Linked DNA regions of Homo sapiens: regions 2, 3, 4 and 5 are each linked to region 1. Evidence: promoter capture Hi-C in human tissues and cell types (Jung and others, 2019). All regions are on one chromosome and are shown on one strand. The core of a region is centred on a gene start or on the middle of the fragment in contact, and the rest is flanking DNA. Distances in the headings are between cores, read along the strand shown.

Region 1 (2,748 bases), core at 99-2,598:
AAAATCACACACAAATGCAGAAAACACTCAGCTCCTGGTGGAAAATTCACTTTTCAGCCAAACGTTTTCTTCACCAATGATATAAAATAAAACAGTGTTCCTCAATAACACATTAGCACTTCATTCTACATATTTACTTGCAATCAGTTTGTTCTGCAAAAATAAAAGCTGGTTAAGCACTCTAGTCATCCTTAAAAAAAAATACTTGCGGAGCAATGAGATAATCTAGTTCATCCCCTAGTTTCCAATCTGCAGGAAAGGTCAGGCCACAGAACTCTCCCAGGTTACACTCTACATACCTCATTCCACTTGACCCACTCAAGAGAACATAAAACTCCCCTTCCCTGTCTTCTCCCCTCCAGTGGTGTGTGAGTTACGGTTGGGAGGTGGGGTGCTAGTTTCTGGGGATTCGAGATTTAACAGAAACTATCCTAAGTATGCATTCTAGCAATCATACAAAGGGAGGAGTCCTGAACTAAACCGTCAAAGAAGCCAATCCACGTGACCTAAACCCTTCAAGCTGGGTCCAGCGCTAAGCAGGCCTGGGGCAGACAATGGCATTATCAGCTGTCCCTGGGCAGGTGGCCAACTAGAACAGCAGGCTCTAAGTCCCATGGAAAGAAATCACAGCCTGATCTCAAGTACCCACAGAAAGCCAGCAAACTCATGCAGTGAAAACTATTCTCCGAAACCCATGCAATGAAAACTATTCTCCGATGGGAAAGGAGGAGGCAGAGAGCCAGCAACAGGCAGCGCAGAGCTGCGTGGCTTCGGGTTACTGCGGATGATTGAAACCAGAAGGCGAGACAAAAAGAAACCAGTGAGGGGTGGGGCGGGTGGAAGGAAAACCCCTTAAGACTCCTCACCACTAAATCTAAAGGGGGAACCCTCAGAGAGGGGTGGCACTTTAGCTGCTGGCATCCCCCCCGCTTCCCGCCCGCACGCTCTGGGGCGCAGAAGGGCCGGTCGTCCCGGGTCATGGGGGTTGGGGGACCGATTCCCTAGCCTCGCGAGCCCCGCCGCCGCCGGTCTTCCCAGAGGCGCCGAGGGGGGACGCGGTCCCGACACCACACTCACGTCTCCGATCTGCAGCTCCACTTCCTCCAGCTGGTCCACCGTTGGGCCGCTGCTCCTGCTCGGAACTGGCCAGCCCAAACTCACTGGGCCGCCCGGGGAAGATGCTGCAGAGGCGTCTGAAGAGGAGGGAGAAGAGGGAGGCGGCGGGGGCGGCGAAGAAACCTGCAACTCCTCAGGGTCGGCCATGGGGAAGGGTTGGGACCGCGGAATCCGACCCGAGAAGCCGAACCGACACCAACTGTCTTTTAACCACTCGCGCCCAAAGCCGAAAGGCCCCGCCTCCTAACGCCAGAAATCCCGCCCAGTCTCCTCGTGGGTCTCAGCCCCGGACCACAAAGACGTTTCATTTTTCGGGACAGCCAATCATATGAGTCAATTCACCTTAGGCAACTCACGGCTCCTGCGCGAGCCTCCAATCGATCTCGAAGGGCACTCGTAGAGAAAACTACACCTCCCAGGAAGCCGTGTGCGTCGCCCCGCCTTCTACTGCCTTTCACTGCGCGTGCGTCGTGCTGTGGGATTCGCGGACCCCTCTGGCCGCGCTGTGGCTGTTTCACCGCTCCCCGGCTGGGACTTGGAGTCCCTTATCTTTCCCTGGTTTGGTACATGACCCGGAAGCCTCGGCTGGCCGTTGCGTCATCCATGGCGCCGGCGCAGAGCGAGAAGGAGGTGGGAACGCCGTGAAGCAAGAGCGGTCGGCAGAGCGGGGAGGCGAACTGCAGCAGAGTTCTTGCTTTCCGGCAGGTGATGGCGCCCCCCGCGGCCTAGAGGTCCAGCGCCCGCCGCGAGCAGCGGACAGTCCTCCTGTTGTGTCCGACCGAGAGTCCTGGTGACTTTGAACATGCTGGTGCCGCTAGCCAAGCTGTCCTGCCTGGGTGAGAGGAAACGGGCGGTGGGGATAAGTGGAGGAGTTAGGGCAAAAGGGACAAGGCCGGTCCTGGGGGCTGTAGGCACCTCTCGCCCCTTCTCTCATCAGCTTTCTCAGGCTATCTAGGGCAAAGGTCACGCGCTGTCAGCCTGTTGGGGGACCCTGGCTTCCTCCCTCTGGGGTTGCCCCAGTTGGTAGAATTAATATCTAGGCTAAAGGTCAAGGGCGGGGAAAACTTGTCAACACGCCCTCGGCATCACCACCACCTGTCAACACACACACACCTCGGTGGACTCCTGAACTGAGGCTTCCCAAATCCTGGTTCTAATCTTCAAACCTCTGTTGGAAATGGAAAAAAAAAAATCGTATTTGCCCAGTTTTTCTCCCTGGTCCTGACCTGACTTTCGTCTTCGGAGCCATTCTAGTTCAGTCTAAAGAAATTGAAGTCTGATCTGTCACATCATGGTTAACATTCATATGTTGACCAAGTCACCCAAGTGTATCTGGAGCCAGTTTTTCTGCGTTGTCTAAAATTAAGGGCTGGGCGTGGTGGCTCAAGCCTGTAATCCCAGCACTCTGGGAGGCTGAGGCGGATGGATCACCTGAGGTCAGGAGTTCAAGACCAGCCTGGCCAACATTGTGAAACCCCATCTCTACTAAAAATACAAAAATTAGCTGGGCGTTGTGGCCCACTCCTGTAATCCCAGCTACTCAGGAGGCTTAGGTAGGAGAATCACTTGAACCCGGAGGTGGAGGTTGCAGTGAGCTGAGATCGCACCACTGCACTCCAGCCTAGGTGAAAG
Region 2 (2,748 bases), core at 161-2,660, 770 kb after region 1:
GGATTATTTGGTAAATGAGTTATGTTGACATGGCCTACTTCTGGATTTTGCTCATCAAAGAGTTTGGACATAATTTCTTTATGAATTTCTGTGTATCTCATGCTTCTTATCCTAACTTTCAACTTTAAGAAATTTTAAAATTATGCTTTCGAATGAGAACGTTGATAATGCTTTTACTCCTCTCACGGTGTGTATTAGTTTGTTAGGGCTATATGTCAAGGGTTCCCTAGAGAAACAGAATGCATATGTTATAAGGAATAGGCTCATGTGATTGTGGGGGCTGACCAGCCTCAAGATCTGCAGGGTGAGTAGGTGATATGGTTTGGATATTTGTCCCCTCCAAAGCTCATGTTGAAATGTGATCCCCAGTGTTGGAGGTGGGGCCTGATGGGAGTTGTTTGGGTCATGGGGGCAGGTCCCTCATGAATGGCTTGGTGTCCTCCCCACAGTAATGAGTGAGTTCTTGCGTTGTTAGTTCATGAGAGAGCTGGTTGTTTAGAAGTGTGTGGCATCTCTCTTGCTCCCTTTTCTTGCTATGTGAAACGTCTGTTCCCTTCTACCTTCTGCCATGAGTTAAAGCTTCCTAAGGCCTCACCAGAAGCCAAGCAGATGCTAGTGCCATGCTTGTACAGCCTGCAGAAATGTGAGCCAAATAAACCTATTTTCTTTATAAAATACTCATTCTCAGGTATTCCTTTACAGCAACACAAAACAGACTAACGTGGTAGGCAAGTTGGAGATCCAGGAAGAGCCAACGGGCAGTTTAAGTTTGAAGGCAGGAAATAGTCAATGCCCCAGGTGGAAGGCAGCCAGGCAGAAAGAGTTCTCTCTTACTCAATGGAGAGTCAGCCTTTTGTTCTATTCAGGCCTTTGACTGATCTGATGAGGCTCACCCACGTTAAGGAGGGCAATCTGCTTTATTCAGTCTAGGGATTTAAATGTTAATCTCATTTAAAAACATCCTCACAGAAACACCCAGAATAATGTTTGACCAAATTGGGCCACAGGTGGGCACTCTGTGGCCCAGTCAAATTGACACGTAAAGTTAACCATCACAGGCTGCCATACCAAAGTACCAAAGACTGTTGTTTAAGTGTCTTAAACAACATAACTGTATTTTCTCACAATTCTGGAGGCTAGAATTCCAAGATCAAGATGTTGGTAGAGTTAGTTTATTCTGAGGCCTCTCTTCTTGGCTTGTAGATGGCCATCTTCTCCCTTTGCCTTCACATCGTCTTCCCTCTGTGTGTGCTTGTATTCTAATTGTCTCTTCTTATAAGGGCACCAGTCATGTTGGACTAGGGCCTACCCATGTGAACTCATTAATTACTTCCGTAAACACCCCATCCTCACATATAGTCACATTCTGAGGTACTGGGACTTAGGACTTTGCTATATGAATGGTGAAGGAGTGAGGAGATGCAATTCATCCCATAACACAGCGGAAGTGCCTTTTTTTTTTTTTTTGAGATGGAGTCTTACTTTGTCCAGGCTGGAGTGTGAGGGCATGATCTTGGTTCACTGCAACCTCTGCCTCCCAGGTTCAAGCAATTCTCCTGCCTCAGCCTCACGAGTAGCTGGGATTACAGGCACTTGCCACCATGCTCTGCCAATTTTTGTACTTTTAGTGGAGACTGGGTTTCACCATGTTGGCCAGACTGGTCTCAAACTCCTGACCTCAAGTGATCTGCCCGCCTCAGCCTCCCAAAGTGCTGGGATTACAGGCATGAGCCACCACGCCTGGCCAGAAGTGCCATATTCGTTAATAAAGGTGTGTAAGATCTGAAAGTAGAAACAGAGTTTAGGATGTAGATTGTACTGGGAAGGCACAGGAATGGAACTAGACAGATAGGCACATGTACAGCTTGATTGGTCAAGCACGGTATCATATAGAATCTATAATAAATATTTAGTCCAGGGGCCCAGCTATCATCATTAAGTCCAAAAGAGAATGTAGGTACTTCCTAGGGGTATAACATAATGTCCTTCAAGAATATAGAACTAAGGACAATAAGACTACTCTGAAAGAATTAAATACATAACTATTCAAGAATCATCAGCATAAATATACATAATATAATCTTATAGTCCAGATCAAGTCTTGACTAAAATTATTGGCATATTTCTTTTCTTTCCCCTACAAAATACTATGTTAATTAATGAAGTGGGAGAAATTGGTCATCCATAGAAACATCAAAAACAAAAACAGATCAGCCTGTTTTAGGGGCAAATGTTGGCAACGACCACATAGGTGCACTCTGGGTAGAGAACATCTTGACCCAATGACTTGTCAGTTCTTTGAGCAGATAATATACCTTTTCTTGAGAGGATTGCATCATGTTTTGAGAGCCTGATAGTTTAACATTTAGATCTGTTAACTAACTCACATGTAAACCAGTGAGACCTGGTAACCTGAGAAGTTTGGCTATAGGAACAAAATATGCTGGCTAGATAATATGAAGTGCTAAACCCCTAACTAAATATATTTCTTGCTGAAAGTTTATAAATTGACACGCTGGCTTACACATGAGGATTTTGAAAGCTTTGTTACTATCAGTTGGTATCTTTGAACTTGGCCAATCATGAGACTTGGGAAAGTCAAACTTGTAGGTCTTTGTAAGAGTGAACTCTGTATTTTTGTTAATGTACTAAGGTACTGTCGCTCTTTGTGGCTTTGTGTCAGAAGCCTGAGGATAGTTTTGGCATTACTCCAACCTCATCATACCATTTGTGGTTGAATTTCTGCAA
Region 3 (2,748 bases), core at 121-2,620, 730 kb after region 1:
TAAGATTCTGTGCTGACGGGGCGCGGTGGCTCATGCCTGTAATCCCAGCACTTCGGGAGGCTGAGGTGGGCGGATCACCTGAGGTCAGGAGTTTGAGACCAGCCTGGCCAACATGGCGAAACCCCATCTCTACTAAAAATACAAAAAATAGCCGGGCTTGGTGGTAGGCACTTGTAATCCCAGCTATTCAGGAGGCTGAGGCAGGAGAATCACTTGAACCCAGGAGGCGGAGGTTCCAGTGAGCTGAGATTAGTAATTAACTAGGCCCAATGCACCACTGCACTCCAGCCTGGGCAACAAGAGAGAAACTCCGTCTCAAAAAAAAAAAAAAAAAAAAAAAAAAAATTCTATGCTGTCAGTTCTTTTCTTGTAGCCCTTCAAAAATGTGGTTGTCACTTCCTTTTGGTCTCCATGGTTTCTCATGACAATATGTTGTCTATATTGTATTAAGTAAAATATGTTATTAAATTGTTTACCTATTTCTGTTTGATTTAAAGAAATGTGGCTAGTAGAAAATTTAAAATTATGTATGTGGTTCACATTATATTGCTATCAGATAGTGCTGCTTTGGCCAGGTGTGATGGCTCATGACTGTAATCTCAGCACTTTGGGAGGTTGAGGCAGGAGGATTGCTTGAGGCTAGGAGTTCGAGACCAGCCGGAGCAACAAAGTGAGACTGTCTCTACAAAAAAATAGCCCATGCCATTCTGTAGTCCTAGCTACTTGGGAGGCTGAGATGGGAGGATTGCTTGAGCCCAGGAGATTGTGGCTGCAATGAGCTATTATTGTGCCACTGCACTCCAGCCTGGGTGACAACAGAGCAAGACCCTGTCTCAACAACAACAACAACAACATAGTGCTGCTCTGACTGAGGTCTGGCTGCCCTTGAAAGCTTAGCTTCTTCAGAAGCCCTCTCACACATGGCTGGTCCTTTCCTCATGCTCTCTGTTCAGACAAGGCCTAGAGGTGGGGCAGGTAGCTCCTGGCTCCCCATTGCTCTTTCCAAGCCATTGGTCATAGTATTTCCTAAAACAGTTTTGATCTTCTGAAACTCATGCCATCAAACTAGACCTGCCTTTACCTCTTCACATTGCAATTCTCTACCATTCTCCTGGTTACTCCTTCCCCTCTTATTGACGATCTTCGTGTCCGGTTCACTGTTGTTCCTACCATCTTGACTCTGGGCATCATTCTTGTCATTGGCATGCCCCTAGATAGTCCATCAACACCCTGGCCTCTCTGTTCACTGTTTTCCTCACTTATAATGATATGTCCTCCATCATTATATCCTCAGCCACCTACTTTAATGGTCGTATCTTTGTCATCGCCTATGGTTTCACAACCTCCAAAATCTTAATTTCAAGCGTCCCAGTCTTTGAATTCTATCTCTTATGTTTATGGCTTATTTCCTCTAGGCTCCCCATTTCAACACTTTTTTTGTTGTTGTCGAGGTATTGCTATGTTGCTTAGGCTGGAGTGCAGTAGTGTGATCAGAGCTCACTGCAGCCTTGAACTCCTGGGCTCAAGCAATTCCCCCATCTCAGGTTCCTGAGTAGCCAGGATTACAGGCATGTGCCACCATGCCCAACTCATCAATTTATTGATTCCATTGGTACTTCCAATTAATTGATTCTATCAGCTTTTCACTTATGTATCTTAGAGTCTGTGGTTCATCATTGCAATTACTCCTTGCATATATCTTTAAGACCCTTTTATCCCCGCCTCTTTCCTTAGACCTTCTGGCAAACCCCTGAACCTGATTGAATTCAATTTTCCCTAACATCTATAACCAAGCAGCTACCATGGCCAGAAAATGACGACAACAACAACAACAACAACTGAACTAGTCTCAGTCTAAATTTGTAACATCAAACCTTGAGTGCTCCTTAGCATGGCCTATTAGTTTTGCGAGGTATCCCCTTACACTCTCATTTTTCTCCTCCTTCATGGCCACCAATATTAAATTTCAGCCGAGACCTTCCTTTCTATCGAACTGCAAAAGTATAATTAATCAGAAGAAAACATCTACTCCTTCCATTCACTGAGTCAGTCCACTTTATACGCAACTGTGGATATTCTCCGTTTTCCTTTCACATATAATGGGTGAATTGACCCTACTCTTACCTAAAGCCAATTTCTCTACTGTGCACCATATTTTATTCTTTCTCAATTCCTACAATTCTTCTTTCTCTGTCATTTATTATCTTTCCTCTAGCCTACTGGATTGTTCTCATTAGCATGCAAGTATGATACAGTCTTTGCCTTCTAATTACTGCTTGGATCTTCCGCTCCCCTTTGTAGCAGAACTCCTGGGAAGACTTGCTATGCTCTCTGCCTTCACTTCACTGCATCATCTCTCCAGAACCCTTTCTATCAGATATTCAAGCCCATCAGTCCAGAGCTATTGTCAATGTCAGTAACAACGTCTACATGGCCTCTTCTTCTTTTTTTGTTGTTTTTGAGATGGAGTTTTTCTCTTGTTGCCCAGGCTGGAGTGCAATGGCACGATCTCGGCTCACTGCAACCTCTACCTCTCAGGTTGAAGCGATTCTCCTGCCTCAGCCTCCCAAGTAGCTGGGATTACAGGCATGCACCACCATGGCTGGCTAATTTTGTATTTTTTGTAGAGATGGGATTGCTCCATGTTGGTCGGGCTGGTCTTGAATTCCCGACCTCGTGATTCGCTTGCCTCAGCCTCCCAAAGTGCTGGAATTACAGGCGTGAGCCACCGCGCTTGGCCTACATAGA
Region 4 (2,748 bases), core at 152-2,651, 560 kb after region 1:
ATGCCTGGCTAACTTTTGTATTTTTAGTAGAGACAGGCTTTCACCATGTTGGCTAGGCTGGTCTCGAACTCCTAACCTCAAGTGTTCTGCCCACCTCGGCCTTCCAAAGTGCTGGAATTACAGACATGAGCCACCGTGCCCAGCCTATGAAAAATTATCTTAATCTATACATCTGGTCTTTTGGAAAGCCCTTTGGATTCCCTGAATTTTTTGTGAGAAACTTTTCAGTTCTGTGTTTTTCCCCTTAGAAACTCTTCCAGGGTAATACCCTTTTATAGATTTGATTTTCTATAAGGGCATGCATTGTAATTATTGTTTTTGATTCTTTCCTTGTGTGTCCATCATTTCAAAGTTTGTCTTTGTTTATAATTTTACTTGTTGTGTAAGCATCTTGCTGTGCTAATGCATTCAAAGACTTCGTTTTTATTAATAACTTTTAACTGAAAGCTGAGAACCTGTTGTTGAGTATAATGTTAAATGCTCTGTGCATTTGATCACTTTTTCAGTGTAGAGCATTTCATTGTGCACACTGGATCCTCTACGGCTTGCCTGCACTCACACTCTTTATAAAATGTCTTGTACTTTGTTCTTACTGTTCTGGTTTTCTGTTTCACTCTCTCAAAGTGTATTTGTTATTTGCAATCCTGAAGATTTTGCACCATTTTTTTCCACTAAGTAATCTAAAATATTTAAAAGGATTGTTCTTTATATTGTCTGTGAGGTACTTTATCTCCTATACATCTTTATCTGTTGCCTTTAAGTCTGTCCTTATTTTCCAGAGCTGAATTTTTTCAGTTTATTTGTGTAGAACTTCGCCAAAGATTTTTGAAAATGTAGTAAATAATCATATTTACTTGCTTTTGTTTATGTATTTACTGTTTCAAAGAATCAGAGAGCAGAAGCAAAAGTAACTTGTGGACTTAATTTCTAGCTAACATTTTTTTTTCCATTGCTTTGTCTGTTTCTTCCAACCTTATAGCTTCTGGTTTGTGAGCTAAGAGCACATCATCTCTGTGAGAGAGCTCAGAGGCTTTGTCACTGATCAGGCCTAGCGTGTGCACTCATGACCTACTCTTTGGCTCCTTTGAGGCTGCTCTTCCTTTCTGCATTCCTGGCTGTGTTTGAAAAAATAGATTGTTGAGTAAATGAAGTAACATATTCTCCCTTGCTAATGTGTGTTCTGTGCACATTGCTTTTTCCATTCAGCTTATTCAATAAATATATCTGATGGAGAGTCTGCAGTTTCTCCTGTTCACATCTTTGTGACGGTTTATGGAACTCGAGTCTTTTTATGGTTGAAAAAGTTTCATCAGGCTGTAGTGCAACTGACTCTCTGAAAAACACTTATGGAAATGTTTTTGTGTAGCACATTTTAGGAAATGTAAACTTTTCATCCCCAAAGTAATAGTGTGCTAGTGCAACTTGAAGTGTGACTTCCTAGCCATGAAGTTCTGTTGAACGAATGACTAATTGGTAAGAGGATTTACGCCTTAAATCCTGGAGTGGTGAAGATGGTACTAGATTTATATATAAAATAAATAACAGTTATATAGTTTATTTATGTGAACATTAACATCTTTTGCTGCTAAAATTTGTAAACAATTCTAGCATATGTTTTTGTATCAAGTATTATATGAACAGTGTATACATTACAAACATTTATGATTTTTTACTATGTTACATTTAAAAACGCATAAACATTAGACCACTATATTTATAAACTTGTCCAAGTCTGTAACCTGCCACATATTTTACTAACACATTGAGATTATTTATTTGCAGTGTATAATTATAAGCTTCATTTTAAAAAATTAAATTGCAAATAGGTAGATTCAGAAACTCAAACTTTTGTGTATATTGAAGAGTTATGGAATTTCAGTTGTATTTAACTGTAAGCTAAAAGAAATGTGTAAAAATTCAGGTCATTTAAATTGCATGAGAAGTAACATGAAGATAGATTTATTATGTTGTTCCTGGCAAATGTTTTCACTTAAAAGTACTCTAATGTGTATGTTTGTGTGGGCATATATGTGTGAATGTATATATGAATATCAAAAAATTTTTTTTCAAATATGTTAAATATGATGCTGGTTTTGATTTTCATGGAAACTTTTTCTTCTTTTCAAGACAGGGTTTTACTCTGTTGCCCAGGCTAGAGTGCAGTGGCACATTCTTGGCTCACTGCAACCTCTGCCTCCCATGCTCAAGTGATCCTCCCATCTCAACTTCCTGAGTAGCTGGGACTACAGGCTTGTACCACCATGCCTGGCTAATTTTTGTATTTTTAGTAGAGACGGGGTTTCACCATGTTGCCCAAGCTGGTCTCGAACTCCTGGGCTCAAGTGATCAGCCCTCCTCAGGCTTCCAAAATGCTGGGATTACAAGCAGGTGCCATCGCGCGTGGCCGGAAATGATTTTGGAAAAGGACTTAATTATCTTTAACAATCAGATAATTATTATTAAGGAAAAGGACTTAAGTGATGGCCTAGTCTAACCTGATAACCTGTAAACAAATAAAATTTATCATATGATGTGGTCAAGATAGTTTGCTAGAGATTGCAGATGATAGAAGGAGAATGTTGGCTTTTCTGTTTTCTTCCTCTTACGTGACTTGGCTCCTAATACTTGAAATATGTGTATTACTATGACATAAAGAGGATTATAAATAGAACAAGAATTTCCATAGGAGTCCCTCACAGTGCCTAATTAACTTGGAAAAAAATTGTTCAATGAAATAGTTTTTTGGTA
Region 5 (2,748 bases), core at 131-2,630, 530 kb after region 1:
TGAAACTGCTTAGTGAATAAAAACCTGTTTAGGGTAAGGTATAGGAGAAAAATACAGCTTGCTTTTTATATCCTTTCTGATGTGAGGGGTAGTGGTGCTGTCAGGTGTTTTGCAGTATTGTTGCAGTTTCTTGCTGTTGGGACTCCTATAGTGAAGTTAGGCAGATTTAGCTTTGAATTTGACTCTGTCTCTGGGTGTGTATAAGTTACCTTTCATTTTTCTGAGACCCAGGTGACTCCAGGTGAGAAACAGGTTTCTTGTGAAGATAAAATTGCAGCATATGAATCTAAAAGAGACATTTGTAAATTAATTTCATAACCCATTAGTAGTTTCCAAAAGAGTCAAAATTTCAGATTCTTTTAAATGTGATAAATTGTTCCTTGAGCCCTTGGATCTATTTCTTTACCCTCAGTTTAGCTGACTCATCGATTTGATGTAATCTCTCTCTCTCTCTATATATATATATAGTTTGTATTGGTGTTTTTCCTTTCATTTATCATTTATTGAATAGCTTCATAACTCCCAGTGTTTCACTCCTTCCTTTCATGTTAAAAATGAATTTCATAAATTTAAGATTGTGCCAGGCACAGTGGCTCATGCCTGTAATCCCAGCACCTTGGGAGGCTGAGGTGGGTGGATCGCTTGAGCCCAGGAGTTCGAGACCAGCCTGGACAAAATGGCACGACCCTATCTCTAAAAAAATACAAAAATTAGCCAGTGTGGTGGCGCACCTCTGTGGTCCCAGCACTGCTCAGGAGGCTGAGGTGGGAAGGTCACTTGAGCCTGGGAGGCGGAGGTTGCAGTGAGCCAAGAGTGCACCACCGCACTCTGGCCTGGGTGACAGTGAGACTTTGTCTCAAAAACAATAATAAAAATAATAAATAATGAAAAAAATGATAACATTAATGAGCCTATAGAATATCTGGCTTTACTGGTTCTTTAGTAGTTTACATTGTTTGCTAGTTAAAAAAAAAGGATGTCTGCTGTGTCCCCTGTATTTTCAGTATAAAGATGAAATGTCTTCAATATTTTCATCAGCTTTCAGAGTTCTTATTGATCTTACTGACTTTTCCTGTTTTGTTGGTTGCAATTCCTTGTAAATGAATTGCTATTGTTTGGAAAATAAGGATTTTTTTTGAAAATCTTAAAATGGTGTTTTCTTTCTTCAGAGTTTTTAATTATAAATGAAGTAATTTCCTTACAATTTAGAACTTTTAAGAAATAGAATAAAAATTACCCTCTACTTTAAAAATGTCATTTGTTTTCTTATTGTGGGAATTTATATATAATTGATATATTTACATATAACTCAGTATTATGAATAATATCATTTTATAATAAAATATCAGTATTCCAACAGTGGAAATTGTAAATACCAAAGCCCTTAACTCTTGTTAGTCCTCCTTCTAAAATTTGGCGTATACTTCATGTTTTAGTACATGCACTTTATATTTCTTTTGGCTTGATATCATTGTTGGGGTTGCTTACTGTGCTGTGTTGCATTAACTTATCTAGTGAGCTTGCTTTGTGCCATTTGACTATACAAAAATAAATAATGAAAACTTTGTCTATCAGCTTATAGCTCAGCGCTCCATCAGAGGAGTAAAAATATACAAATTTTTAAACTGTAATAAATCCAGTAACAGAAATGATGTAATGTATTTGTGAAAAAGATTAAAATTATTGTGTATCTGGAAAGCCATCTGTCTATTGGAAGGTGGCCATTGTTAGAACTTATTTTTTTGAAGCCGTGGAACACTTTGTTCATAGAAAATCCTGTTCAGCCCAACAATAGTAGCTATTATGGTTGAAAGAGGTTTGGACGCCTTGAAATCCCAAGGGCTCTTGACATTGAAAACCTCTGATCTCAACTGTCTGCGGGACGCCTATAAAAGGATAGAGGATAATTTGTTGTAAATAAGTAATTTTCACTGTGGTTTTTTGGCATAATCGTATATTTGAGAGCACAAGTCTAAGCTGGCCAGAAGTCTGTAATAACAGCAGTGTAGGTGAGCAAAAATGGGACCCTGAACTGTAGCAAAGGGTTTCGATAGAGACTTGGGAGGGGAACCCGCAGAATGTGATGATAGGCTGTGAAGAGGGAGAAGCTTCGGAAGTTGTCCCTTTATCTTTTGGTTGGAGGGTGTTGGTGAGACCGCAGATACAGGAAAATAAAGGTGTTTTTCTATTTTTTGGTCATGGGTGGCTGGCCCTCTGGAGTTCCTTGTGGTCCCCATGTAGTTATTGGAACCTTTGTTAGTCTTCATTTTATTTCACTTTCTTGTTTTATAGGCATGTGATCAATAGCCCTCGATGATGATTCCTGTCTCCTTTTCTCCAGATGCCAACAGCTTTGTCTTTTGAATGTGATACTGTGCGGTATTACATCCTGGATAGTATAAAGTGACCTTTCTAAAATAGCACCAAAATTGGTATTTGATGCTATATGTGGTTCTCAGTTGTGCCGAACCTGTCTCAGATAGCTGTGTCGTGTGCTCGGCTCAGCCACTGTTTCTGGACATTTTGCCTATTCTTTCTCACAAAGCAATCGCCATCTTTTTGCTTCTCTGTTTTAATGACCTTGTTAATGCTGTCCATGTGAAGCATTTAGAGGAGCTTCCTCACTCCCCTGGGCCGCTTCAGGCTTGGCCATATTGCACTTGCTCTGCTAGAGTGGGAGGAGTCTCTTCTTGTACCCCATACACCCTCCTTGTTTCATATTTTGTCAGGATCATCTGGGAAAGCACT

The links. Contacts are between HindIII fragments. The study calls those that stand out against the background at their distance.
Region 2: a contact is called between a fragment that was not itself captured here and the fragment with the promoter of C4orf46 in region 1, in 1 of the 25 tissues and cell types used here (lymphoblastoid cells).
Region 3: a contact is called between a fragment that was not itself captured here and the fragment with the promoter of C4orf46 in region 1, in 1 of the 25 tissues and cell types used here (lymphoblastoid cells).
Region 4: a fragment that was not itself captured here is called in contact with the fragment with the promoter of C4orf46 in region 1 in 1 of the 25 tissues and cell types used here (lymphoblastoid cells).
Region 5: a fragment that was not itself captured here is called in contact with the fragment with the promoter of C4orf46 in region 1 in 1 of the 25 tissues and cell types used here (aorta).

The regions. Positions count from the first base shown.
Region 1 is chr4:158,670,539-158,673,286 of GRCh38, forward strand. C4orf46 (chromosome 4 open reading frame 46) reads right to left here and starts at 1,349. Exons shown (of 2, transcript NM_001008393.4): 1 at 1,078-1,349. The coding sequence starts at 1,263. ETFDH (electron transfer flavoprotein dehydrogenase) reads left to right here and starts at 1,758. Exons shown (of 13, transcript NM_004453.4): 1 at 1,758-1,952. The coding sequence starts at 1,919. RefSeq lists enhancers at 328-964, 965-1,601, 1,444-2,003, 1,605-2,106 and a silencer at 954-1,023. The HindIII fragment of the contact is 11,975 bases long and covers 1-2,748 here.
Region 2 is chr4:159,440,410-159,443,157 of GRCh38, forward strand. No RefSeq gene overlaps it. Among named protein-coding and RNA genes, the nearest start is that of MIR3688-1, 310 kb to the left of the region's middle. The HindIII fragment of the contact is 3,628 bases long and covers 1-2,748 here.
Region 3 is chr4:159,402,426-159,405,173 of GRCh38, forward strand. No RefSeq gene overlaps it. Among named protein-coding and RNA genes, the nearest start is that of MIR3688-1, 270 kb to the left of the region's middle. RefSeq lists an enhancer at 1-97. The HindIII fragment of the contact is 5,698 bases long and covers 1-2,748 here.
Region 4 is chr4:159,234,915-159,237,662 of GRCh38, forward strand. The region is part of intron 4 of RAPGEF2 (Rap guanine nucleotide exchange factor 2); the gene reads left to right. Among named protein-coding and RNA genes, the nearest start is that of MIR3688-1, 110 kb to the left of the region's middle. The HindIII fragment of the contact is 3,683 bases long and covers 1-2,748 here.
Region 5 is chr4:159,199,608-159,202,355 of GRCh38, forward strand. The region is part of intron 3 of RAPGEF2 (Rap guanine nucleotide exchange factor 2); the gene reads left to right. Among named protein-coding and RNA genes, the nearest start is that of MIR3688-1, 72 kb to the left of the region's middle. The HindIII fragment of the contact is 4,702 bases long and covers 1-2,748 here.